3 separate regions of the Homo sapiens genome follow, and all the other regions are linked to region 2. Evidence: promoter capture Hi-C in human tissues and cell types (Jung and others, 2019). All regions are on one chromosome and are shown on one strand. The core of a region is centred on a gene start or on the middle of the fragment in contact, and the rest is flanking DNA. Distances in the headings are between cores, read along the strand shown.

Region 1 (2,700 bases), core at 79-2,578, 44 kb after region 2:
TTTATTGGCCAGGAAGTTGGTGCTGCTAAGACCGAGAAATTTAAAGAATCGGACAGATGGACGCAGAGAACCAGAGGGCAATGTGGGACCTTCTCTTGCCATGGCCTCAGGTCTTGAGGGAAGGCTCGGGCCTAGGTTTCTGGACTGCAAAGGGGACCCCCAGGTGGGAGGGGCAGGAAGCAGCCGGAGTGAGCCCTTCGCCCCTGAGTGCCTGGCTCGCACCTCTCGAGCTGTGCCCTGGGCATCACTGAGCAGAGGGGTGCGGCAGCTTCAGGAGGCAGAAACGAGAGGGGTGGGAGATCCACAGGACCAAAGGGTGCAGTGATGGGCTGGGTGGCGGGCCCAGGGAAATGGGGTGGGGATGGGCTGGGTAAGACCTGGCCCTCCCCTGCTGCCCTGAAGACCACCCCAGTCTACCTCGGTGCTGGCCAGGAAACCTTTCGGCTACCTCTCCCACCATCCCAGACTGTGGGCAGGGGGATGGGGAGGGAGTGGGCCTGGATCTGGGACCTCCCTCCAGAATTTCCTCCAGATGGGGGCAGTGCCCAGGGAGGGGTTATTTGTCTTCCCTGCCATGGAGTGGGAATCCCCAGCCGAGGCCCTAGGCCCCTCAGCAGGGAAGGGATCCCCGGGGAGGCAGGTCCCAGGAGCAGACCCTGCCCCCAGCCCCCACAGACACACCCCAATCTGAAAGCCATGCGTGTCGGTGTATATAGGAACCATGTACAGAGCCCAGAGAAGCCCCCTACATCCCCCCGGGAAAAAAAAGAAAACTAGACAGAAACTCATCTATATATTCTGTATCTGGAGTTCCGTTTTGAATATTAACTGTGTTATTTTTATACACTTTTTAAGCCTTAACTCGCCATTGATTTACCAGTTTAACGTTTCCTGGGGTTTCTTTGCCCATGGGGTTCTCTGCCCCCACCCCCGGCCCTTTGTTTGACTTGCGTCGTCTGATACTCAGTATTGTAGCTTTTTGTCCGCATGTTACTCCCTGTAAATACGCTGTTATACATACTGTTAACACCCCTTTGCTTTTTCTATGGGACCTCCAGGCCACCATATTTAGAACTAGTTACCTTATTAAAAAAGAAAAAACAGTCTGTTGGCTTCTCAGTCTGCATCTTGGAGGCAGGGAGGTGAGGGCAGGTGCCCCTCAGACACTTCAGGAAGGTAGTTTGCATTCTATTTAAAAAAGGGAGTGGGGAGCAAATGAAAATCAAATGTGGGGGGAAAACACTAAAGGGGGCAAGAAACAAAGGAATTACAAACCCTCTGCTCTTTGTATTTCTCTGTTGTGAAGAATAAACTGTACCTGCACCCGGGTGGCGGTGGTGTTTGGCGTGCTCTGTGCGAGGGCAGGGCTGGGGGGCACCTTTCCATTGCTCCTCTCCCCTCCCCCGCCCCCCAGACTTGGAGAAGGAAGAAAGTGGCCTCTCACTGTGGGCTGGCCTCACTCCAGGTGCTGAACTGAGTGCTTTATGTTGATTGCCTCACAACTCCCTAAGAAGTGGGCAGCAAACCAAGAGAGGCCCTTTGCTAAGGATCATGCTGCAGTATAGTGGCAGTGACATAAACTGACCCAGCATTGCCTAGTTCTGGAGCCTTCTTGGATATACTAGGTCCACCAATAAGTCTCACTTCCACTGCTCCCTGAGGGGGCACCCCACCTATGTGGGGGGGGGGTCCATCATGAGTGCCTGATTTGTGGAAGTGATTCTAGTGATTGGAGGGGGAGTCCAAGACATCCTTGTCATACATTGTTTTTTCCCCATAGGAGTCAATGTTTTGACTGCCTAGGAAGGAAATTTAGTAATAAAATCCCCAAAAGCTTATCATGTCTGGCCCTGTGGAAGCACTGTGAGGGGGACAGTGCTTCCACTGTCCATGGAAGGTCATCATGGAGGTCATCTACCATGGAGGTCATCATTGGTTCGAACTCGTTTCCCTGAGTCCTCACAGTCCTCATGTGTCAAGACTTTGCTGCAAGTGATAGAAAGTCCAATCCAAACAAGGGTGTATTGGCTTATGTAACAGGACAGTGGTCAGGCCAGCTTCAGGGCTCAAAGGATGTGTCTCCAGCTCTCCACTCTGTTCTGAGTCAGCTTCAGCCTGAGGCGCCTGTGGGGTCAGCAGCTCTAGTCTCTCAGTCCCCAGGGTTCCAGCAATCAAGCCTCTTGTCTCTCTGACAAAAGCCTCAGTGTCTTCATCTGTTTTATGCTGCTATAACAGGATATCACAAACTCAGTAATTTATAATGAGCAGAAATTTCATTCTGTTCATGATAAATTCCAGTCTCATAGTTCTGGAGGTTGGGAAGTCCAAGAGCATGGTGCCAGCATCTGGTGAGGGCCTTCATGCCATGTCATCTCATGCCAGAAGGCAGAAGAGCAAGAGAGGGTGAGGCCAGGCTTGGTGGCTCATGCTTGTAATCTCAGCACTTTGGGAGGCCAAGGCAGGAGGATCACTTGAGTCCAGGAGTTTGAGACCAGCCTGGGCAACATAGGGAGACCTTGTCTCCACAAAAAAAAAGAAAAAGAAAATTGGCCAGGTGTGGTGGTGCATGCGCCTGTAGTCCCAGCTACTTGAGAGGCTGAGGTGAGAGGACTGCTTGAGCCTGGGAGGTCAGGGCTGTGGGGAGCCGTGATTGCACCATTTGCACTCCAGACTGGGAGACAGAACAAGCTCCATCTCAAA
Region 2 (2,700 bases), core at 186-2,685:
CATTCCAACTAATTCATGCCACACAGATTTCTTGTGCCCCTGCTCTGTGCCAGGCACTGTGCTTGGGGATTGAGAACAAGCAGTCCCTATGGGCCCTGTCTTCGAGTTGCTCACAGTGTTTGCCATCCTGTGCTGGACTAGAATCTTCGTGAGGGCAGGGGCATTATCCAGTTTTTTAATAGCTGTGCTCCAGCCAACCAGCTATTAAAAACAGTGGTTGATGTTTACTAGGTCCTCTATGAATATTTACTGAATTTGGAAATGCTTCCTGGAGGACAAACGCTGGCAGATGATTGTTTATCTCTGTGCCCTTCCCGGGGGACTGTGCGCTCCCTGAGGGCAGGGCCAGCCCTGATCCATCCTGGCCCAGCGGTCGGGGGGTGGTGGATGCCATAGAAATCTAAGCCGGTGAAGGGATCCTGGAACCGGCTGCCTCCTCAGGTAGAAGTGTAAGTTTGGAAGCTGACACAGCTCGGGAGGCCGAATCAGGAGGACTTGGTGACTGATTGGCTGGGGAGGGTGAGGCGGGAGGAGGAGTCACACAGATGGCTCTGAGGTCTGGAGCCGGGGGACAGCCGGTGCCACCTCTGATAGACTCTGCGAGAGGAGCCACTGCCAGCTTCGGGCCGCCCCATCCGTCGGGGATCCGGCCTAGGGCTAGGGAGGGGTGGCTGGGCCTGTGCAAACTTCTACTCCCCACCCCTATGTCCTCGTCTTAAAAAAAAAATCGGCCTGGATTTTGAGCAGGTCGTTATCAGGGGTGAGGGTCCATCCTGGGGGTCCCCTCCAGGCGGCCGTCTTCGAGGGAGACCCCCAGGGGCAGCCTGGCACCGCGCGGGCTCGGCCTGGTCAGGGCCGTGGCCCGCCAGGCCCAAGTCCCCAGCCTGCCATCACCCAGGAGTGGGGTGGCGAGGCGGCCGCCGGGCCTGGGCAGGACAATGGCCACGGCCGCCGGGGCCCCGGGAGCCCCCGCGCTGGGGAAGGGGCTGTCCTAGGGCCGGGCGCCGGTGCCCTCCCCGCGCGGCTCAGGCGGGCGGAGGGGGGCGAGGAGTTCCTTTGTGGCTCTGCCTCCGGCGCGGCGCGGGCGGGGGGCGCAGCGCAACTTTGCCAGGCGGTGGCGGCGGCGGCGGCGGCGGCGACGGCGAGCGCGAGACGAGGCCCCGGGGCCCGAGTGGGGGCCCCAGCGCGCGGCCCGCCCCCGCCCCCCGCCCGGCCCCCTCCCCTCTCGCGCAGTCGCCAGCGCCCGGCGCTGCCCACTCGCGGGAGCCCCCGGGGCCGGACGGGCTGCGCAGCCGGAGAGGCGGGGGCCCGACGCGGCCCCCCCGGAGCCGGGCGCCTGGCGCGGGGGCTCGCCGAGCGCACTGGGGGCCGCGCGGCGCTGCAGACCCAGCCTCCCGCCGCCGCCGCCGCCGCCGCCTCGGCGCTTGCAGAACCCAGAAGTGAACAGCAGGCGACCCGGAAGGTTTGCGCGCGGCTCCGCAGCGAGCCAGAGCCGGAGCCCGAGCCCGGAGCCTGTGCCGGAGCCCCAGCCCGGCCCTGCTCGGGCCGCCGGGCGCGGGGCTGCGGCCGCGTCCCGGAGGCGCCGCCAGCACAGCCAGGTCCGTGCGGGCCCGGGGCGCGCGGGGAGCGGGCCCAGCGGCGGCGGGCGCCTGCCCGCGGGAAAGTTGCGCCGAGTTGCGGGCGGGGGCCGGGCCGGGGCGCGGGCGCTGTCAGCGCGGGCCGGGGCGCTCCGAGGGCCCGGGGCCGCCTGCGCCTCGGGCCCGGCCCAGAGCGGCGGCGGCGGCGGCGGCAGCGGGGCGCGCGGGGTAGGAAGTGTCTCCCGCGGCGTGTCTGGGGCTGGTCTCCGAGTGTGTGTGCGTGTGTGTGTGTGCGCGCGCGTGTGTGTGTGTTTTCTTAAGCCGGGCTATTCAAACCCTGCTGCAATTCTCCGGTAAACAATGATTCATGGGGCATAATGCAAATAAACGGATTGCAAACGGCGCGGTTCGCGCACTTTGCAGCCGGCCCGGTGGAGCAGCCAGTGCCGGATTTCTCCCTTTTTTTGCAGATCTGCAGAATATGGCGTCCCTGTCCTGTTTTAAAAATAAGCCAGGCTGCCATTTTTGTTTTTCTTTTGTCTGAAAATTTTAATAAAACTGTCTGAGAATGTGGGAGAGGCGGCTGGAAGCAGAGGGGGCACCCGAAGGGTTGGCTTTTTTCCTTTTCTTTGGCGAGAGCCGCGAGCCTTTCGGGGAGGTGAGACACAATGCAATTGCACTTTAAAGAAAAAAAAAAAGGGAAGCTGCCGGGCGATTTGAGGGGGGAGGGCTGGGAATTTAAAGTTAACTCCGAAAGTTTGCTTTGCTTTGCTTCTCTTTCTTTCTTTCTTTCTTTTTTTTTTTTTTTGGAAGGCGGTGAAATGCCGCGAAAGGATCTCGAGGCCCATTTCTCCCCCAGCCAGCTGCCTTTGCAGGATTTTTGGGAAAAGTTAACTGCCGGTTTCCTCAGAGCTGCGCGGGATGGGGGTGGGGGGGCGGATGTGGAGGGTTGAGGATGGGAGTTTTGGGGGAACTGGGAAACATTTATTTGGAAGGGGCTCTATAAACATGGCATTGTAAGGAGCTAGATCCTCAGATCTGGGGGAGAGGGCCGGCAAGAGGGGCTCAGAATGGGTCCAGGATTTCCAGCAAAGACCCCTGGCATGAGGAAATAATCCTGCTG
Region 3 (2,700 bases), core at 58-2,557, 44 kb before region 2:
TCCATCCCTTTATTTTGAGCCTATGTGTGTCTTTGCATGTGAGATGTGTCTCCTGAATACAGCACACCGATGGGTCTTAACCCGTTATCCAATTTGCCAGTCTGTGTCTTTTAATTGGGACATTTAGCTCATTTACATTTAAGGTTAATTTTTTTTTTTTTTTGAGACAGAGACTCACTCTGTCACCCAGGCTGGAGTGCAGTGGCACAATCCTGGCTCACTGCAAGCTCTGCCTCCTAGGTTCACACCATTCTCCTGCCTCAGCCTCCCGAGTAGCTGGGACTACAGGTGCCCACCACCACGCCTGGCTAATTTTTTGTATTTTTAGTAGAGATGGGGTTTCACCATGTTAGCCAGGTTGGTCTCAATCTCCTGACCTTGTGATCTGCCCTCGCTAGCCTCCCAAAGTGTTGGGATTACAGATGTGAGCCACCGCGCCAGGCCTACATTTAAGGTTAATATTGTTATGTGTGAATTTGATCCTGCCATTATGATGCTAGCTGGTTATTTCACTGTTTAATTGATGCAGTTTCTTCATAGCGTTGATGGTCTCTACAATTTGGCATGTTTTTGCAGTGGCTGGTACCGTTTGTTCATGTCCATGTTTAGTGCTTCCTTCAGGAGCTCTTGTAAGGCAGGCCTGGTGGTGACAAAATCTCTCAGCATTTGGTTGACTGTAAGGGATTTTATTTCTCCTTCATTTATGAAGCTTATTTTGGCTGGATATGAAATTCTGGGTTGAAAATTCTTTTCTTTAAGAATGTTGAATATTGACCCCCACTCTCTTCTGGTTTGCAGGGTTTCTGCAGAGAGATCTGCTAGTCTGATGGGCTTCCCTTTGTGGGTAACCCGCCCTTTCTCTCTGGCTGCCCTTAGCATTTTTTCCTTCATTTCAACCTTGGTGAATCTGACATTTATGTGTCTCGGGGTTGCTCTTCTCAAGGAGTAATCTTTGTGGTGTTCTCTGCATTTCTTGAATTTGAATGTTGGCCTGCCTTGCTAGGTTGGGGATGTTCTCCTGGATAGTATCCTGAAGAATGTTTTCTAACTTGGTTCCATTCTCCCCATCACTTTCAGGTACACCAATCCAAAGGAGATTTGGTCTTGATAATTCTTATATTGCTGGTGGGAATATCAAATGTACATCTGAGATGGTTTTCATCTGTGTCCCCACCCAAATCTCACATTCAATTGTAATCCCTGGTGTTGGAGGTGGGATCTGGTGGGAAGTGATTGGATCACAGGGACTGTTTCTCATGGTTAACATCATCTCCCTTGGAGCTGTCATTACGATAGTGAATTCTCATGAGATCTGGTTGTTAAAAAGTGTGTAGCACCGCCGCCTTCTCTCTGTTCCTCCTGCTTCAACCATGTAAGACATGCCTGCTTCCCCTTCACCTTCCACTATGAGTCAAAGCTCCCTGAGGCCTCCCCAGAAGCAGATGCAGCCAAGCTTCCTATACAGCTTGCAGTACTGTGAGCCACTTAAACCTCTTTTCTTTATAAATTATCCAGTCCCAGGTATTTCTTCATAGCAGTGTGAGAATGACTAGTATGATAGCCATTTTGGAAAACAGTTTGGCAGTTTCTCAATAATTTACCTAGGTATCTCTAACGTATATTGAGCCATTCCACTTCTAGGTACCTATATTAGGCTATTGGTGTGTTGCTGTAAAGAAGTACCCAAGACTGGATAGTTTATAAAGAAAAGTGGTTTAATTGAGTCACAGTACTGCAGGCTGTACAGGAAGCATGGCGCTAGGCATCTGCTTGGCTTCTGGTGAGGCCTCAGGAAACTTACAATCATGGCAGAAGACAAAGGGGAAGCTGGCCTATCACATGGCAAGAGCAGGAGTAAGACAGAGAGGTGGTGGGGTGCAGTGGGGAGGTGCCACACACTTTTAAACAACCAGATCTTGTGTGAACTCATTCATCACCAAGGGAATGGCACTAAGCCATTCATGAGGGATACTCCCCCATGATCCAAACATCTCTGACCTTCAGGCCTCACCTCCAACACTGGGAATTACATTTTAACATGAGATTTGGAGAAGACAGCCGAACTATATGAGAAATGAAAGCGTACGTGCATGCAAAGATTTGTACACAAATGTTTATTGCTGCCTTATTTATAATAGTCACAATTTATTTAGAAGTAACCCTAATGTCCCAAATCCATGGATGAATGAATAAACTAAATGTGGCACATCCATACAATGGAAATGCTCCTTGGCAATAAAAAGGATAAATTTTATATGTGCAATAGCATGGCTGAATCTCAAAATAATTGTGCTGAGTGAAAGAAGATGGACAAAAAGAGTATGTATGTATTATACTATTCATATAAATTTTTAGAATTTTGTTTTGTTTTGTTTTAGATGGAGTCTCACTCTGTTGCCCAGGCTGGAGTGCAGTGGTGCGATCTTGGCTCCTGACCTCAGGTGACCCACCCACCTCAGCCTCCTAAAGTGCTGAGATTACAGGCATGAGCCACTACGCCCAGCCTGAAGTTCATTTTCTTAATCACGGCGATGATTTCACAGATGCATACATATATACATAACAACCTCTCAAAATTGTTCACTTTAAGTATGGGCAGTTTATTGTTTGTCAATTGTATTTCAATAAATCAGTTAGAAAAAATCCCAGAAGAAGGGTGGGAAGCAGTAAAGTGAACAAAGAAGCTGGTAAATGTGTTGG

The links. The method cuts DNA at HindIII sites, captures the fragments that hold promoters and counts their contacts. A contact is called where the count stands out against the background at its distance.
Region 1: a fragment that was not itself captured here is called in contact with the fragment with the promoter of ZNF362 in region 2 in 2 of the 25 tissues and cell types used here (heart left ventricle and neural progenitor cells).
Region 3: a contact is called between a fragment that was not itself captured here and the fragment with the promoter of ZNF362 in region 2, in 3 of the 25 tissues and cell types used here (adrenal gland, spleen and stomach).

What each region holds. Positions count from the first base shown.
Region 1 is chr1:33,299,392-33,302,091 of GRCh38, forward strand. It overlaps ZNF362 (zinc finger protein 362), which reads left to right. Exons shown (of 9, transcript NM_152493.3): 9 at 1-1,328. Among named protein-coding and RNA genes, the nearest start is that of A3GALT2, 20 kb to the right of the region's middle. RefSeq lists an enhancer at 1-941. The HindIII fragment of the contact is 5,609 bases long and covers 1-2,700 here.
Region 2 is chr1:33,255,057-33,257,756 of GRCh38, forward strand. It overlaps ZNF362 (zinc finger protein 362), which reads left to right and starts at 1,436. Exons shown (of 9, transcript NM_152493.3): 1 at 1,436-1,598. RefSeq lists silencers at 825-924, 1,367-1,426 and an enhancer at 1,892-2,186. The HindIII fragment of the contact is 13,308 bases long and covers 1-2,700 here.
Region 3 is chr1:33,210,789-33,213,488 of GRCh38, forward strand. It overlaps a transcript of ZNF362 not described here. Among named protein-coding and RNA genes, the nearest start is that of TRIM62, 30 kb to the left of the region's middle. RefSeq lists an enhancer at 349-518 and a silencer at 1,293-1,352. The HindIII fragment of the contact is 3,403 bases long and covers 1-2,700 here.